2 separate regions of the Homo sapiens genome follow, and region 1 is linked to region 2. Evidence: promoter capture Hi-C in 16 types of primary human blood cells and fetal thymus (Javierre and others, 2016). All regions are on one chromosome and are shown on one strand. The core of a region is centred on a gene start or on the middle of the fragment in contact, and the rest is flanking DNA. Distances in the headings are between cores, read along the strand shown. Region 1 holds the start of SMCO1 (single-pass membrane protein with coiled-coil domains 1). Region 2 holds the start of MELTF (melanotransferrin).

What was found. Contacts are between HindIII fragments. The CHiCAGO score rates a contact against its expected background, and 5 or more counts as called.
Region 1: the fragment with the promoter of SMCO1 here is called in contact with the fragment with the promoter of MELTF in region 2 in 9 of 17 cell types (total B cells, monocytes, fetal thymus and 6 more); the score reaches 12.2 in total B cells.

The regions. Positions count from the first base shown.
Region 1 is chr3:196,514,096-196,516,795 of GRCh38, forward strand. It overlaps SMCO1 (single-pass membrane protein with coiled-coil domains 1), which reads right to left and starts at 1,251. Exons shown (of 3, transcript NM_001077657.3): 1 at 1,065-1,251. The coding sequence starts at 1,114. The HindIII fragment of the contact is 1,040 bases long and covers 233-1,272 here.
Region 2 is chr3:197,028,567-197,032,137 of GRCh38, forward strand. It overlaps MELTF (melanotransferrin), which reads right to left and starts at 1,251. Exons shown (of 16, transcript NM_005929.6): 1 at 1,088-1,251. The coding sequence starts at 1,136. RefSeq lists silencers at 514-693, 884-933, 984-1,473 and enhancers at 1,007-1,643, 1,644-2,280, 2,668-3,571, 2,972-3,266. The HindIII fragment of the contact is 6,273 bases long and covers 309-3,571 here.

The DNA.
Region 1 (2,700 bases), core at 1-2,500, 510 kb before region 2:
TCCAGACACATTCTTCTAAAACACAATTCCGATTCTGTGACTCAACTGATTACAAATGGTTTATGTCATCCTGGCTTGCCCAGTGATATACTCAGAGGCAAACTGGATCTCCTCAGCAGGAAAGTCAAGGGCCTTCACCCTTTGCTCCTGTCTTCCACCAGTCCCCTCACCCATCCTAGTTACCAATTACACGAGACATCTAGTTGCTGCTTGAATACATTATGTGGTTCCAAGCTTACATATGGCTTATATGCACTGTTTCCTCAGCCTAGAATGCCTTCCCATATTTTTCTCCCTCATAAGCTCCTACTTGCACTTTAAGATCCAGCTTAAATGACCCTATATGAAGAGTTCCTTTTTCTAGTGTCAAAGGCAAAATTGGTTGATCCTCCCTTCATGTTCGCATAGACCTTTAGGAACATCACCATTGTAAGGTCAGTCACATTAAATTGTAAATGTTTTTCAAACTTTTCTCTTTCCTACAGGCTGTGAGCTCCTTGAGGGCAGAAACCACATTTTACTTATTTTTGTAAATCTAGGATTTAGCATATGCATACATTCAATGGAGTTACAGCACCTGGGAGCAGACTTTTCTTTATTGTTAATTTACATAGGTTTGGGCCTGGAAGACTTAAACCACTGTAATAGAGACGGAATTCTTTTTTTGGACGGAGTCTTGCTCTGTTGCCAGGCTGGAGTGCAGTGGCACGATCTCGGCTCACTGCAACCTCCACCTCCCGGGTTCAAGTGATTCTCCTGCCTCAGCCTCCCAAGTAGCTGGGACTACAGGCGCCCGCCACCATGCCTGGGTAATTTTTGTATTTTTAGTAGAGGCAGGGTTTCACCATGTTCGCCAGGCTGGTCTCAATCTCTTGACCCTGTGATCCGCCCACCTCGGCCTCCCAGTGTGCTGGGATTACAGGTGTGAGCCACCGCACCGGCCACAGAGACAGAATTCTAATGAGCATGTCTGCAGTTCTTTATTTCTATTCTTCATTCTTCTCTTACCCATCTTCCCAGAATAGCAGACCCATGCTTGCTCCCTCCCTATAGCCCTCAGCAACCTTTTCATTGCCTCCTTCAAGGATATCAGGGTTGTGGTTTCATTGTTCATCTTCTGAAGGCAAAAGGAAAGAAAACAAAAACAAAGCAAAACAAAAAAAGCAATAAATGTTTGAATCCAGAATTTTCTGCGGTCTTCCTCTCAGCAACAGGCAGCAGTAGCAGGAGCGCTCAGTCTACATTCTGCCTGAAAGGTCACTCAGTACAAGAAGCTTTTAATAGCCTGCAGATCCAAATATAGTTTCAAAGAACTTATCTCGTGGACACAGGTGTCCTGGAATGCACTATAACATTTGCCTTTGAAAACTGAACCATAGTACATTAACATACAGCAACAACCATGTATAATTAATGACTGTGTACATTATGGTAAATGTATATACAGATACATTAACGTAACGTATAGGATTAAGTTTGATGGAAATATTACTGTCATATTTTAACTGCTTCATTATTCAATTACAACCTAAATTAGGTTTGAAGAGTGCCCCAGATCTTTTATGATGATGATATCAAAGCAAAAAATCTAACTATCATTAGAAACTACTAAATACTTGTTATGGCTGGGTATGGTGGCTCACTCCTGTAATCCCAGCACTTGGGGAAGCCAAGGTGGGAGGATTGCTTGAGCCCAGGAATTCAAGACCAGCCTGGGCCACAGAGCGAGACTGTCTCCACAAAAAATACAAAAATTAGCCAGGAGTGGTGGTGCATGCCTGTAGTCCCAGCTACTCAAGAGGCTGAAGTGGGAGGACTGCTTGAGCCCAGGAGTTCGAAGCTGCAGTGAGCTATGATCATGCCACTGCACTCCAGCCCGGGCAAGAGGATAGGATATATATATATATATATATATATATATATATATATATATATAATTATATATAAAATTATACATATAATTATATATAATATATAATTTATATCGTATATAAAATATATATATAATTTTATATAATTATATATATATTAGATTAGGAATTGAATATAAATGTGGAAATAAAATAGGACTGCTGTTTTCATGAGATTTAAAATCTAGTTGGGAAGAAAGAATATATCCTTAAATAGAAAATGTATATGGGATGTGTGCTAAGTAGATAGAGACCATAAAAATAATAGAAGGTGAGAGACTAAGTCACTGAAATCTTGGGTCCTTGGGGAGATATTCACCCTGAAGGTGGTACTTGGCTTGGCCTTAAAGGTCAAGGTCTTTGATTATCAGAGAAGAGTGTTAAGGGTGTTACGAACTGGAGAAATTGTGTGAGCAAAATCACAGAGGTGGCAAAGTAAATGATGTGTTCAGGAAACAATGAGTAGGTATGTTTTGAGCAAAAGATTCATATAAGAAAAAGAAAATAACCACACCATTTAAACTGGTAAGAGCCATGTCACGTATTTGTTCTTTCACTGAATACTTTATTCACTTATTCAATATTTACTGAGCATCATAGATATTAATTGAATGTATAAAACCTACGAATGGATGAGCAGCACTATTCCAGGCACTGGTAATATAGTGATAAGTAAGGCGAAATCCTTGTCCTCAAGGAACATACTAGCAGGGAGACAGCACATAAGGCTTATAAGAGAGGGGATGCTTCTAGCTAGCTTGGTAAGGAGTTTGGACAGATGTGAGCTGTT
Region 2 (3,571 bases), core at 1-2,500:
CACCTTCTGTGTTGAAAGTAAACCCCCTTGTAGAGAGCCTGAGACACCCACATCCTCAGTGGACTTCTGCTTATGCCTCAGGATCTGACCGGGTCAGAGTCCCCGAGAGCTCCCAGGCTAGGGGCCCAGAGGAAGGGGTGCTGGAGCCCCTTGGGGCCGATGACTTTCAGGCCTGAGCTCCTCTGCCATTCACCCTGCCCCAGCCAGCACTGCCAGAGGCCTGTGCAGGAGGGAGGGAAACGCATGACTCCGCCCGAAACCAGGTCACCCTCCCGTGGCAGCCCCACCAGCCCAAGGGCCGAGACTGAAGCTTCCGCCACAGCCCTCCCCTCCCCACTCCTGGCGGAGGCCTGGGAAGTCGAACTGCCCTCCCCTCCGCAGCGCTCCAAGCCCCCCACCACCCAGGCGGGAAACTGCAAAGTTCAGACGGGGCGGGGGTGGCGGTGGCTTCATCGTTTGCATTGATGAGTGCGTCGCCTGCGGCCACAGCGGTGCCACGAACTCCATCCCCTCGGCGGTCGCCGCCCGCGATCCCCGCGAGCCGCTCCCCGAGGTCCCGCCTCCCGTCCCACCATCCCGGGCCCTGACTCCCCGGGGCGCCGACGCGAGGGGACCCGGCCTCCGTCTCCACCTCCATCCCTGCATGTGCCAGAAACCCCCGGGCGGACTCCCGCGCCTGCCGGTCAGTCCCTCTGAATCTTCTCCCGCGGGGGCTCGGGAGAAAGAGCTGCTCCGAGCCCCCAAAGTCTTCCTGAGTTCCTGCGCCCGTCGGGAGGGGCCGCCCTCCGGGAGCTCCTCTCCACACCCCGAGGCCTCCCCACCACGCCTCAGCCCGCGCTTCTCCTTGGAGCGTCGGAAGCCTCGGGTGTTCGAGGCCGCCTCCTCCAAGAAGCCTTCCAGACTTCCCCGTCTGCGCTTCAGTGCTAGTTCCCTCCGCCGTCCTCACTCGACCCCGAGCCCCTGCCTCCCCCGTCTCACTGCCCCGGAGCCGCAGGCTCAGGCACATTTCCAGCCCCGGGACCTGCTCAGCCGGGCCGCGGCGCCCCGGGACCCCCGCCCGCCTTTGGCTCTCACAGCGGGGCCTCACCGGTGCGCAGAGCCAGGAGCAGCCACAGAGCCCCGCTCGGACCCCGCATGGCGCCGTCGGGGCTGGCTGGGGCCGGGCTGGGGCTGGGTCCGGGTCCGAGGAGGTCCGCAGCAGCCGGGCTTCCTCCCTGCTCCCCCTCGCGCTGGCCCGAGCTCCTTAAGTGCGGCCGCGAGTTCCCGGGCGGAATCCACGCCCCTGGGGCGCAGGTCACCTCCCGCCGACCCCGGACCCCGCCCCTGGGCGGCCCCGGCGCGCCCCCTGCTGGAGGCCTCCCGCTCGGGCCCGGGCGCCGCTGCTCGGGGCTCTCGCCTCAGCCTCCTACCCCGCGTTCCAGGGTATCCTCCCCTCCTCGCGCCCTAGAAAGACTCCAGATACCGTGTCTAACTGGAGAGAGAAAAGCTCAGACGTGGAAGGAAGGAGAGGTCAGAATCCCAGAGTCGGGGCTGGAGGGCAGCTGGAGGATGATCTCATTCACGCAGCAGCTCCCTCCCAGCACAGCTGCACAGAGGATCTGGGATACGGGGGAGCCCAGGCCGAGCGCCCTGGCGAGGGGGGAGCCGGGCAGGGGCATCTCGGCCACAGCTGCACAGAGGATCTGGGATACGGGGGAGCCCAGGCCGAGCGCCCTGGCGAGGGGGGAGCCGGGCAGGGGCATCTCGGCCACAGCTGCACAGAGGATCTGGGATACGGGGGAGCCCAGGCCGAGCGCCCTGGCGAGGGGGGAGCCGGGCAGGGGCATCTCGGCCACAGCTGCACAGAGGATCTGGGATACGGGGGAGCCCAGGCCGAGCGCCCTGGCGAGGGGGGAGCCGGGCAGGGGCATCTCGGCCTAGCCGACTGCCTCTCCTCGGGCCTAGAGACGGGAGGTGACTTGCCCGAGTCAGGCATCCAGTCAGTGGCAGAGCCAGCTGATTGGAAGGTGAGAAGAGGACCAGAGAGGAATTGGAGGAAGCGGAAAAGGAGAAACAGGCGGAGAAGGGGAGGAAGAGAGTGAAGAAGGTGAGGGAGGAAAGGGTGGGTTGACCGTATTTCTAGGACAGTGGTTCTCAGTGTGGTCCCTAGGCCAGCAACGTGAGCATCACCCTGGAACTTGCTGGAAATGCAAGTGCTCAGGCCCCACCTCCGACCCACTGGATCGACAGCTCTGGGGGCGGGGCCCACAATCTGTTTTTATTTCGGGGCACAGCAAATGTTGAGAACCACTGTCGCAGGCGGGCAAAAGCGGCACTCCCCATGTGGTTGGGGATGCGGGGAATGAACTGAAGACATTGTTAGTCACCTGCCTCCATTTAGGCCTCACCTTTATGTCATCAGCCCCTCTGAGACTCAGAAATGATGTCTCTCTCTGACATGGGTAAGTACAACAGTGAGAGAGAAGACATCCCTCTGAGTTTGTCTGTCCTTGAGCTTGCTCTGCGCCCTGGGGAAGGAAGGCCTCCCTCCTATGGGGCCATGAAGCTACTGCTTATCACACACTGGATCAGGGGAAGGAACATGGGCTGGGCTTCAGGAGACTCGAGCTCTACTTTTTAAAAACCAGCGACTTACAGACCCTGGGCGAGTTCGTCGCCCTCTCTGGGCTTGTTCCCCACATGTAAAAGGTAGGTCATGATGGCCGTGACGTGCCATACTTTCCGTCTCCTGTCTGCTCTGGAGGACTTGTGCTGTGGAAGCTGTTTCTCCATCCCCCCAGATGGATCCCTTCTTCCTAGTTTGCACAAAGGTGCCGAATGGACTAGCAGGCAGCCTTGCTAGAGGGGCTGATGGCTTGTCCTAAGAAGATGGAATAAATAGAAGAGTCCTTAACAAGCCTCGTTCTCCTGACCACGAGGATAGAAAGGCTCAGTTGGCACACTCCAGGAGCCACCAGATGACTGGCAGGATCTGTTTGATGACTAAGTCCTTCCTTTGGCAAAACTCCACGTGACGCTGATAGGGAGTGAGAACAACCATAACCTAAGAGGTTTGCTGGGCTCTTTCACAATGAAGTTCTTCCCTTATCTCTTGGGTGTCATTCAGCTGTGACTCATCAGTGAACTTGCTGCCTCTGGGTTCTCAGGGATTCTACATCGGGCCCGTTGGCCCAGGGTTGGCATGAACGCGCATCACCTTTGTGGAATGGGGAAGTCTGCCTCAGCTTGAGCCAGGATTCTGCCATTTCTGGGGTCCGGACATACTTGGGTGTGCCAGAGAAATGGGTGGGATGTAATGAGAGAGTAATAAGCCAGTAGTTTAACCCACAAACAGCCTTCTGGAGGAGCAGAAGCTGAGGTTAGTTTGGTCCCCATTCTAGACTCATATTGAGATTAGAGGGAGAGCATACAGACTAAAGGAACTGGTTTCACTGACACTTCGATCAGATTCTGGGGCCTAAGCAGCTCTGCCTGAGTCTCCCTGACCCTACCCCATAATATGAAATAAAAAGAGCTCTTCTCCACTCTTGCCAAAGACACAGCTCTGGCTCTCCAAGGATTCAGAGTGCCC